4 separate regions of the Homo sapiens genome follow, and all the other regions are linked to region 2. Evidence: promoter capture Hi-C in human tissues and cell types (Jung and others, 2019). All regions are on one chromosome and are shown on one strand. Each heading gives the region's core, a stretch centred on a gene start or on the middle of the fragment in contact. The rest is flanking DNA. Distances are from core to core; before and after follow the strand shown. Region 1 overlaps WWC1 (WW and C2 domain containing 1). Region 2 holds the start of WWC1 (WW and C2 domain containing 1). Region 3 overlaps TENM2 (teneurin transmembrane protein 2). Region 4 overlaps WWC1 (WW and C2 domain containing 1).

Evidence for each region. Contacts are between HindIII fragments. The study calls those that stand out against the background at their distance.
Region 1: a contact is called between a fragment that was not itself captured here and the fragment with the promoter of WWC1 in region 2, in 3 of the 25 tissues and cell types used here (H1 embryonic stem cells, IMR-90 fibroblasts and mesendoderm cells).
Region 3: a contact is called between a fragment that was not itself captured here and the fragment with the promoter of WWC1 in region 2, in 1 of the 25 tissues and cell types used here (psoas muscle).
Region 4: a fragment that was not itself captured here is called in contact with the fragment with the promoter of WWC1 in region 2 in 6 of the 25 tissues and cell types used here (IMR-90 fibroblasts, dorsolateral prefrontal cortex, neural progenitor cells and 3 more).

The regions. Positions count from the first base shown.
Region 1 is chr5:168,342,093-168,344,924 of GRCh38, reverse strand. All of the region lies in intron 1 of WWC1 (WW and C2 domain containing 1), which reads right to left. Among named protein-coding and RNA genes, the nearest start is that of WWC1, 52 kb to the right of the region's middle. The HindIII fragment of the contact is 5,637 bases long and covers 1-2,832 here.
Region 2 is chr5:168,290,059-168,293,048 of GRCh38, reverse strand. WWC1 (WW and C2 domain containing 1) reads right to left here and starts at 1,404. Exons shown (of 23, transcript NM_015238.3): 1 at 778-1,404. The coding sequence starts at 896. RefSeq lists silencers at 592-1,011, 1,112-1,631 and an enhancer at 2,776-2,855. The HindIII fragment of the contact is 18,450 bases long and covers 1-2,990 here.
Region 3 is chr5:168,240,239-168,243,072 of GRCh38, reverse strand. The region is part of intron 27 of TENM2 (teneurin transmembrane protein 2); the gene reads right to left. Among named protein-coding and RNA genes, the nearest start is that of TENM2-AS1, 9.3 kb to the right of the region's middle. The HindIII fragment of the contact is 5,657 bases long and covers 1-2,834 here.
Region 4 is chr5:168,323,742-168,326,760 of GRCh38, reverse strand. The region is part of intron 1 of WWC1 (WW and C2 domain containing 1); the gene reads right to left. Among named protein-coding and RNA genes, the nearest start is that of WWC1, 34 kb to the right of the region's middle. The HindIII fragment of the contact is 5,949 bases long and covers 1-3,019 here.

The DNA.
Region 1 (2,832 bases), core at 52-2,551, 52 kb before region 2:
TGTTCAAACTAAGAACTGGGGCATGGTTGCAGTATGTTGTTAAATACAGTATAAATATACTTTAAAATTTTTAGTTTCATTTCTCAAAATGAAGGCCTGATCAAATCTTTTCCCCCCAATATTTACTATAAATGTTTGACTTCTATTTTAAGTAATTTCTCTTCTAAATAAAACCTCCCCTTGGAATATGAACCCCCTGCACTGCTTTGTCAAGCAGCCCCTGCTTCCTGCTGTGACAGACGCAATGCTAAGGCTTGAGCAAGAGCACCTGCTTCAGAGATGCTCAGAGTTTCTTCCCTTCACAGAATTTTCCCATCTACTGTTTCATCTGATGTCTTCAAGAACTCCATGAGTTAGTTCAGGAAACTGTGTACTATTATCCCACACATATACATCTACTTTGTAGCTTACAAAGCTCTTATGACATCTGCTATCTCATCTTGACCCACAGGACAATTCTGGAGGAGAAAAGTAACACTCACATTCTACAGATGAGAAAACCGAGCCTGAAATGTAAAGAATGTGCCCAAGACCCCATAACTCGCTGTTGGAAGCTTTAGGATTAGAAGCCAGGTTTTCACCACTTGTTCTTTCCTGTGGGCTACCCAACTCTCTCAAGCACAGGGAAGACAAATGAAAGTTCTGCAGGCTAGGAATCATTTTTTCAGGCCAGTGAATTCTTTTTAGAAGCTATCTGCAAGGCTGCCTTAAAACACTCAAACATATCTCCTTTTGCAGAAACAGTCCAAGGTATACAAGCAAAACAGTGACAATCAATACATTCCCATTGCCCCATTATGACTGTTCTAGGTGGAAAATAAGGATCAGAAGAGTTCCATTCCAAATGTTCAGAATGGATAGGCCTTGCAAGCTGCTGTTTGGGTGAGCTGCATGATAGCTTGTCAGCTACAGTGGTTCAGATGCAGCAGTGTTCTCCAATGTGTAACTGAGCCGAGGGGGAAGCACGTGAATTATTAAGAAATGTCATCAGTGGAAGACTGAGTGGAGGTATGGTGGGGGAGACATCTGAGAGCCCTGAACCCCTGAAGACTAGGAAAAAACATAAACATCCCAGAAGCAAAAGTTCAACTTTTTTTTTTTTTTTTTTGAGACATAGTCTCACTGTGTCGCCCAGGCTGCAGTGGCATGATCTCAGCTCACTGCAACCTCCGCCTCCTGGGTTGAAGTGATTCTCATGCCTCAGCCTCCCAAGTAGCTGCGATTACAGGCACACGCCACCACGCCCAGCTAATTTTTGTATTTTTAGTAGAGACGGGGTTTCACCATGTTGGTCAGGATGGTCTTGACCTCTTGACTTTGTGATCCGCCCACCTCGGCCTCCCAAAGTGTTGGGATTACAGGCGTGAGCCACCACGCCCGGCCTCAACTCTTAATATATGTCAGCCCCTCCTTTGCAACCAGCTCTGCGTGCTGCTGCTGACAAGCAGCATGGTGTGGAGGCATGGGATGTCCTAGAGTCCAGCCAACCTGAGCTCTGTGATCTTGGGCAAGTTATTTCCCTTCTTTGAGTGTCAGTTTTCTTCATCTATTAAATGGGGTCATCACTTTCACTTGTCCTGAAAAGTATACAAGATAATACACAGTTAGCACAGTGCCTGCCCCACAGTAAACACTCAGAATGTTGAAGCTATCATGAATAAATTCAAATGCAGGGCACATGAAAGCACTTAATGAACGTTTGGCCCCGTCATCAAGAAAGTATTTCTGTATCTCCTAGCACAGTGAACTTTATGACCTTTAAAACCATGATTATATGGTCTGTGCAAATGTGAAAGGGAAGTAAAGTTGAGAAAATTGGGAGGTCCATCTGCGCAATGAAAATGCATACAAACCCCCCAGGCTCTTAGGGCTGGATGGTGGTCATAAAACAAGAACTCCAAGCTTCTGGGAGCCCAATCCTTCCTTGGAACCTACAAATTGGATGGAATTTTTTAACACTGGAACTGGAAACACCCCTTGCTCCCTGCCTAGTGCCCAGATACTTGGTGGTGGGCACTTGGATAAACCCTACTGCCCAGAGTGTGGAACAGCTTGAGGGGCCCCCACTGTGCTCTCAATCCGTCCACAGTATGGGGTCTGTTCTCTGCAGCACTTGCATCCTCCGGTTCTTTGCTCAAGACTTTCCAGTGGATCCCAGTCATTCATGGGTTTCCTTAGCTGGGTCTTCATGGCTCTTCATCTACCCTTTGGGAGTTCTTACCCTTTCCATGAACCCCCTCCTCCACACAGTGTGGTATAGTCCCTGCATACCTTCCCACCTCAATGTCTTAGTGAGTCATCCACGACTCTTCAACCTATCCCCCACCACATCTGTTTCTGCCTTTCTAGATCCTACAAAGCCTTCAGGGCCTCCACGAAGTCCACAGAAATCCGGTCAGCATGAATTCAACCTCATATCTAATGTTACTGCTTCAAACTTCTATACATGTATCACTGGCTGAACTGTGAGCTTCCAGGAGGCAGGGAATGTGCATATACTTGTGGGTGTGCATTCACCCACAGCACCTAACACTGCCACTTGGATCCAGCCAAGTGCCTGCCTGCCTAGAGGCTGCCTAATTTTTGCGCAATAGCTCTACCTTCCATGGTCCCTACCCTGTTCAGCTCCATCAGCTCCGTCAGCTCCTAGAACCTATTACCCTGATCTTTATGTTTTCCCTCTCCCTTCCTCTGCTCCAAACAATTCAGAATAAAACCAGGCCAGTTGGAGGTGAGCTGTGTCAAATACTCCCTGTATCTGAAAGTCTTTCAGTAAGTCCCCCCAGTGCTCCCCATTCACTTCCACTGAAACTTCCCCATGCCTATTCAGTG
Region 2 (2,990 bases), core at 155-2,654:
CTGAGGAGCCTCGCCGCCCCCTTCCCCGATCAGGGAAGAAAGAGAGGAGAAAGAGGCGAGGGGCAAGGCTTTCCGGGAGGCCTCTCACCTCCATCTCCATCCTAACAGCTTCCAAGTTGCTGCCAGATTCCTGGATAACCAGTCTCCCTCATCTGCCCTCCCCCGCTTCTTCACTTCCTCCCCACCCTCGGGTTCCAGGGCCCCCTGGCTGCCCCTGTGCTGTTCTCAGCAGCTTCCAAGGCACCTGTCAAAAAGCACACCTCAGGTTGCCTTCCTCTGCGCCGAGTGCCCTCTCTCCAGTGGTCTCCCACGGAATCCTGGGGTCTTGACCACCCCCTCTAACCGGACACTTCCCCATCCCCATCCGCCCACCCCCCACGCTGGGTGGAAGCCTCCCCGGGAAGACCCGGCTTCACCCGGCTAGGTCGCTCCCCCAACCCCCGCCCCCGCCCGACCTCTCTTCCTAAAGGGGGCGGGCGGGGCTAGAGCTTAAGGTCAAAACTCCGGGCAGGTGCCGGCTGGGGCCTAAGTCCTCCAACTGGGGATGGCGGTGGGGCAGCCTGGGCCAGCTCCCCGGCAGGCGCCTCCTCTCGGTGGCCCACTGAGGCGGGAGCAGCGCTCCAGAAGGTTGGGGGGAGCAGGGGGTGGCGAACTGAAGAGAGCTCAAGAGGCACGCAGAGCTCCCCTGCCCCCTCCCAGTCCCGGCCGGCGGCTCCAGGGGCAGGTGGGGGCCCAGGCGGGGGTGTGGGGGCACGGAGGAGGGTTCCAGGGTCCTACCTGTCCCGCGGGTCGATCCAGCTGGTGGTGCGGTTCGTGTGGTCTATGTAGTAGACCTTGCCGTCGAAGTCGCGCGCCTCCTCCCAGCCCTCCGGCAGGGGCAGCTCCGGCCGGGGCATCTTCCCAAGCGCTGCCGGCGCTCCCCCATGCAGCTCCCGGCCGCAGCGGGGGCTCAGCGGCTCCAGCCGGCCGCTCTTAGCCCGGGCGGCCGCCGAGGCACCATGATCCGGGGGGTGGCGCCCGCAGATGGGGGGCCCTAGTAGGGGCCGGCCGGGGTGGCGCCGCTGTCCATGCGGCCCTGCAGCCCCGACCCGGCGCCGCCCGCTCCTCCCGCCGCCGGCCTCTCACGCTGCCATGTGCGTCCGCAGCGGCGCGGTGCGAGCCCGGGTGCGCGCCCAGCCGGCCGGGCAGAGCGAGCCGAGCGCCGCCGCCGCCGCCGTCTGCCCTCCTCCGCCGCGCGGCGCGCTGCGCCCTCCACGCCGCCGCTGCCGCTGCCGCCTCCCTCCTCCCTGCAGCCGGGTGCCGTCCCTCCTCTCCGCTCCACCGCTCTGAGCTCGCCGGGTTTGTGACTTCTGCCTCCGCCAGGTGCGGCTCGGGCGGTGCAGGTAACCGCGCTGCCCCGGAAACGGGAGGCGGAGCGCCGGGCGCCTGGGTTCCCGGGTCCCCTCCCCGCGCGCAGCGCCTCGAGGGCGGGTCCTAGGGCCCGAGACGCGCCCCCTCGTGGGACAGTCCCAGCCGCCGGCCACCCTTACGCTGCCCCTGCCAGGGGAAGGAGAGACCGCCCCTCACCTGCGTCCCAGACCTAGGGGGCTGGGCCAAAAACCGCTCTGCCTGTACTTAAAACGCTCCTGTCTCTCTCCACCCGGAGTAGCCAGGCTCTCGGCACAGGTGGCCCCAAATCTTAAAAACTCCCTGCTTTTCTGTGGTGTAGAATCAGGAGTCAGGCAAGAAGTGGTTAAATGGAAACATTCTTGCGAATTGGGAAACATAAGTTTTCCAGGATCTCTGGTCCCTTCCCCCAACACAGGCACCATCTGTCTCCTTCTATTCAACTCTCCCTACGACGTTTCGCCCACCCTCCACCCTTCCCCACCATTTGGAAATGTAGCTGGCTCCCCTCAGGGTCCCTAAAATTAGGAGCGCTGTGGATCCGCTTTCCTGGGAGGACTTCCAGAGGGTGTCAGGGAAAACACTTTGTAAAAGTAATAGTAATGCCATTGTTATTGTTAGCTAAATTGAGGACTTACTTGTGACAGGCTGTGGCTAGCAGCTTCACAGGCTTTCTTTCCTGTGATACTTTGAGGTAGGTGTGTTATGGATTTGGGAGAAGTGGGGCTATGAAAAAGAAGAAAGTAAGCAAAGCAAAATTCCATCTTGAAAAATGTTCAAGAGAATAAAACAATCAGAGACACAATGTTTCTTGAGAAATTAAAAATGTAGAATTAGTGGGTGCGGTGGCTCACGCCTGTAATCCCAGCACTTTGGGAGGGTGAGGCAGACAGATTACCTGAGGTCAGGATTTCAGACCAGCCTGGCCAACATAGTGAACCCCATCTCTACTAAAAAATAATAATAATAAATTAGCTGGGCGTGGTGGTGCACGCCCGTAGTCCCAGCTACTCGGGAGGCTGAGGCATGAGAATCACTTCAACCTGGGAGGTGGAGGTTGCAGTGAGCCAAGATCGCACCACTGCACTCCAGCCTGGGCAACAAAGCGAGACTCTGTCTCAAATAAATAAATAAATAAATTTAAAATGTAGCATTAAATACAAAAAGCAAGCTAGCATGATTGAGTGAATGATCAACTGGCTGTTCACTTCCCCATCTCCTCTTACATCTGTGTACTGAGTGGGAATTTAACCCTTTTTTGCCCTCGGCATATGGCAGGAAGCTGGACTGGTCGAATGAAGCCCAGTTGGGTGTCTTCTCTTGCCTGAGCCCCACGGTCTTCCAGAAGAACCAGCACCCTGTGCTGTATGGACCAGGGTGTTGCTGAGCCAGAGAGGGAATCATGTTTGTGGTCTCATCTCCTCTTGACAGAAAAGACCCACCAGAGTGAGCCTCGCCTCCAAATGCCTTCTTCATAGTTAATTCCTTCCCTGAGGCCAGGCCTCGGGGCTCAGTGCTTGGCCCTCCTTCATTCCATAAATACCAGGCACCAGAGTCCAGGGACACCAGCCTCAGACTGGCCCTCAACACCCAAAAGTTGGAAT
Region 3 (2,834 bases), core at 59-2,558, 50 kb after region 2:
CTCGAGAGATGTCTGGTACCTCCTCACTTTACCCTAATAATTCAACAGCACTTACTGGTAATAATGATGGTAGTGATGGTGGTGATGATAGTAATAATAAGTTTTTTTTTTTTTTTGAGATAGAGTCTCACTCTGTTGCCCAGGCTGGAGTGCAGTGGTGCAATCTCAGCTCACTGCAACCTCTGTCTCCCGGGTTCAAGTGATTCTCCTGCCTCAGCCTCCCTCCTGAGTAGTTGGGATTAGAGGCATGTGCCATCATACTGGGCTAATTTTTGTATTTTTAGTAGAGACGAGGTTTCACCATGTTGGCCAGGCTGGTCTCGAACTCCTGACCTCAGGTGATCCACCCACCTTGTCCTCCCAAAGTTCTAGGATTACAGGTGTGAGCCACCACGCCCAGCTGATAGTAATGATGACTTTAATATATGCTGAGGACGAATATATACAGGCATTGTGTTAGGCATTTTGCATCCATTGTTTGAGTTGTTGCTCACAAAGACCATTTGACAAATGATAAAAAAAGCTTCAAACAGAGTGGTTACAAAACTTGCTCAAGGTCACACAGCAGTGAAGTGGTTGGATTGGTCTGGAACTTAGGCCTTCAGACTTTAACCAGTTAACTTCTTATACACTTCACCAGCTTTACTGCTTCCTGTATTGTATGTCCATTGAGTGCCCTGAAATGTGTCAAATGATGAACAGACTGTGAAGCATTTTCACAGCCCTTGAACGCTCCACATTGCAGCTTTGGGGGTGTGAGGGGGTGGGACAAGGAATAATTCTAATACCACAGACACTTGCATTCTGGGAAACAGCTTTGTGCCCAGGTAATGAAACACATTTCGCAGCTTCCTTCAGAGATACGGGTGGCCAACAAGATGTAAGTGGTTGTTGTTGGCTGGTCTTCTGGGAAATATTCTTAAAGGAAATTGACTCAGCTGAGAGCTAGGCAATCTTTAATTCTTCCCTTTCCTCCTTTTCCTGGGTGAAATGTGTATGTGATGGCTGGAGCTCCAGCATTTACCTTGTGACTATGAGGTGACTTTGGGGCTGGAGACCTCCAGGATGATGGCCTATCCAGAGAAAAAGAGTCTAGATCTCTGTTGATCTAGGTGTCTTCAGTGTTCATCCATACAGCCAAGGATTGCTTTCCCTAAGCTCCTTTCAGATCATAGGAAAATAATAAGCGTAAATCCTGTTTAAACCCTTGCTATTGCTAATCTCTGTTACTAGCGGTGGAAACAAATCTAAATTGATACAAGCCCCTGATACTTTGGCAGGTGCTATGCTAGGTACTTTACATACCTGATCCCATTTTCACTTTCATGACATAGAAACTATCTTACATAAGAGCAACTGAGGTCTACAGGAGTCCCATAACTAGACAAGTGGCAGAAGTGGAATCTGAACCCAGGACTACAGATTCTCCAAACCATTGCTGTTTCTATAAGGTCATCTCAGAGAGAGGATAGAATATTTATTATAGGACAATTAGAAAAGAGGATGCATAGGCCAGGTGCGTGTGGCTCATGTCTGTAATTTCAACATTTTAGGGGGCTGAGATTGGCAGATCACCTGAGGTCAGGAGTTTGAGACCAGCCTGGCCAACATGGTGAAACCCTGTGTCTACTAAAAAAAAAAAAAAAAAAAATTAGCCAAGCATGGTAGCATGTGTCTATAATCCCAGCTACCCAAAAGGCTGAGCAGGAGAATTGTTTGAACCCAGGAGGTGGAGGTTGCAGTGAGCCAAGATCATGCCACTGCACCCCACCCTGGGGGACAGAGTGAGACTCTGTTTCAAAAAAAAAAAGAACAAAAAGAAAAAGAAAAGAGAATGCATCAAAGCATGGGGAGGGAAATAAAGGTGGTGAGTTCTTGGGATTATAAGGAACCCTAACTTCAAGTGGAAGATTCCTATCAACAACTTCCAGCAACTGGGAATAGTCAAGAAGGCAAAGGCTGAGTAGTAGGATTTTTTATTTTTTTAAAAACAGGTCCAAAAGTTAATGCCGTCTGAATTATACGGGATTGGAGCCATCATTTTCAGAGCAAAACACACAGTGGTGGTCAGAAAGATAGGTCTTCTCCTCTGCCAACAGAAGCTTGGTCACATCGGGTTGGTTCATCTGGGACAACTGCGGAAGGCCACCATCATTCTTAAACCTATGGGTTTCAGATTTTGGTTCAAGACCTCTCCAACATTTTGTTAGGCAGAATGAATGATGCAACAATGAGGAAGGATTTCCAGGGTTTTTGGAGGCAACTGCTGGGGACTTGCCATCATGCCTACTTATTTCCATCCCCTTGGCCATCCTTAGTTTTTCCTCCTTCCCTTTTCTTATATTTTTTTTTCTTTTTGCTCATATCATAGGGCCCTAGTGCATTTATTAATTATTGAACATTGAGTGTCAGCTAATGCCAGGCTTTGGTGTCTGCTCTGGTATACAAGGAAGAAAAACCACAGCAACAGCAACATGTTGAGCATTTACACAGGCTGAGTGTTATTCTCAGCATTGCCCTTGTTTTGTCTAATTTACACAACAACACTCTCAGGCAGGCATTATTATCATCCCCATTTTGCACACAAGATATAGATGGGTTTAAGTGACTTGCTCAAGTTTAGATAAATACTCAGTGGTAGAGCTAGGATCCCCATACAGAGCTTGCTGTCTTAACCTCCAGGTTGTACACCTCTAGGATTGAGGGGTGTTGGACTACAGGCTTTCCATCAAGCATGCAATTCTAAACCACATGGGACACTCTCTTAAAGCTCTGCTGCTCGGCTGGCTCCACGCCTGCTGAATCAGCTCCTCAGGGAATAGGGGTTTGGGTCT
Region 4 (3,019 bases), core at 254-2,753, 34 kb before region 2:
CAAGACCAGCCTGTCCAACATGGTGAAACCCCATCTCTACTAAAAATACAAAAATTAGCATGGTGGCGCGTGCCTGTAATCCCAGCTACTTGGAAGGCTGAGGCAGAAGAATTGCTTGAACCAGGACACAGGAGGCGGAGGTTGCAGTGAGCTGAGATCGCATCACTGTACTCCAGCCTGGGCTACAGAGCTAGACTCCATCTAAAAACAACAACAACAACAACAAATAACACTATCAAGTCGGGGCCGGGCACGGTGGCTCATGCCTGTAATCCCAGCACTTTGGGAGGCTGAGGCGGGCGGATCACCTGAGGTGGGGAGTTCGAGACCAGCCTGACCAACATGGAGAAACCCTGTCTCTACTAAAAATACAAAATTAGCTGGGCGTGGTGGCACATGCCTGTAATCCCAGCTAGTAGGGAGGCTGGGGCAGGAGAGTCGCTTGAACCTGGGAGGCGGAGGTTGCGGTGAGCCGAGATCACGCTATTGCACTCCAGTCTGGGCAACAAGAGCAAAACTCCGTCCCAAAAAAAAAAAAAAAAAAGACTATCAGGTCGGTGTCCTGAGCCACTAATTCCTATCCCCATTTACGCCTTATTACCTTAAAACAAAACAAAACAAAAAATCATTACTGTCCACTCACATTCCTAGCAGCATTATTCACAAATAGCCAAAAGGTGAAAGCAACCCAAATGTCCACCGACAGAGGAACAGAAAAGCAAAATGTGATATCAACATACAAGGGAATATGATTTACCCTTAAAAAGGAAGGAAATTTTGACACAGTCTACAACATGGATGAGTCTTATGTATTATTTCACATAATGCTAAGTGAAACCACCTGTCACAAAGGACAAATACTATGGGATTTCATTTATATGAGGTATCTAGAGTAGTCAAACTCATAGAGCCAGAGACAGAATAGTAGTTTCCAGGGGCTGGGGGCAGGGTGGAATGGGGAATTGTTTAGTGGGTGTAGGAAGATGAAAAGAGTTCTGGAGATGGATGGTGGTGATGGTGGCATAATAACAATATAATTAATGCACTAAACTCTACCGTTGAAAATGGTTAAGATGATTAATTTTATGTTATGTATATTTTACCACAATTTTTTAAAAAGGAAAAGAAATCATTTCTCACATGGAATGTCAGTGCAAATGGGACTGCCTGTAAATGATGGAATTCTTTGCCACCAGATACAGCCTATCCAGGAAGCTTCTCCTCCTCTTCCAGGCAACTTTTCATTATTGCTTAAAAATTCCCCTCCCCACTGCCCCACCTGGTGCTGACTCAGCTCCTGTCAGTATCTGAATGCCAGGAACCAGCCTGAGGGCGGACACTGCCACCTTCTCCTGTGTCCTAGGACACCCAGAGTTCCCAGAGACTGACAATGATGCCATCCACCACTCCAGGACCCCAGCCCCTGCCAATCTCAGCGAGCATGGCCCCAAGTCCTGACTGGCATCACACGTGAGCTTGGCAGGTTCCAGAAAGCTCTCTTCATGGCAAGAAAAGCTAGGGTGGGGTACCCTGTGGGAGCTGTTGGTAGGGGCTCCTATCAGAAGGCCCCAGGGCCTGCCATCTCAGAGGACAAGGAGGACACACGTGGTCTCAATGCTATGCACAGAATGAGGCCATGGAGGTTAGCTTGCTTCTGCCCACTTCTGCCCTTGCCAGCGAGTCAAAGGAGATCAGGACTGGAATGAGGAAATGGCTCCATCTGTCCTCTCCCCTGCAAAGAGCTGGAAAGCTTGCTCTACTGGATCCAGTCATTTATTCAGGTATTTGAACTCAGCTACTAGGTGTCTACACATTTAGGATGGTCATGTCTTTTTGATGAATCACCCTATTATTGTAAAAGCTCTCTGCATGCCATGCTGACAGCCATTCCAATATTCTTTTGATTAGTATTGGTATGGTATATCCTTCCTATCCTTTTACTTGTAACCTATGTATTTATATTTAAAGTGAACCTGTTACAGGCAGGCTATATACTTGAGTCTTGTTCTTTTTTTCTACTTTTTAATTAAAGTGTTTAGTCCATTTACTTTTACTGAATTATTGATATAGCTGGATTTAAGTCTACCAATTTGCCATTTGTTGTCTATTTGTCTTACCTGTTTCTTGTTTTCTGTTCTGCTTTTAAAAAAAAAATCATCCACAATACACCATTATTATGTTTGCTCTAAAGAGTCAACTATCTTTTAAAGAAATGAAGAAATTTTTAGTTTTTTCTATTTCTGGTGCTCTTTTAATTTCTCACGTAGATCTAAGTTTCCACCTGATATCATCTTCCTTTGGCCTGAAAAATTTATTTATTTTTTTTTTGAGACAGAGTCACGCTCTGTTACCCAAGCTGGAGTATAGCGGCACAGTCTCAACTCACTGCAACCTCTGCCTCCTAGGTTCAAGCGATTCTCCTGCCTCGGCCTCCTGAGTAGGTGGGACTGCAGGTGAGCACCACCAGCCTGGCTAATTTTTGTACTTTTAGTAGAGACAGGGTTTCCCCATGTTGGTCAGGCTGGTCTCAAACTCCTGACGTCATGATCCGCTCGCCTCAGCCTCCCAAAGTGCTGGGATTACAGGCATGGGCCACTGCACCTGGCCCTGAAAAATTTCCTTTAACATTTCTTATTGTATAACTGTGCTAGTGATACTTTCTCTAAGCAATTTATTTTATCTGAAAATGTTTGGATTTTATCTTCATTTTAAGGATACTTGTGGTTGGATACAGAATTGTTAAGTTGACAGTATTTTTCCCTTTCAGCACCTTAGAGATGTCATTCAGTTATGTTTTGGTTTGTATCGTCTCTGATGAGAAGTCCGCAGTATTCTTACTGTTCTCCTGTATGTAATTCCTATTGTTCTCCTGTGTGTTATTCCCTGATGATTTTAAGATTTTTCTCATCTTTTGTTTTCAGCAGTTTGACTATGATGTGTCTAGGTGTAGTTTTCCACATGATTTTCCTGGATTTATTGGGCTTCTTGGATCTGTGGGTGATATCATTTTCATCAACTT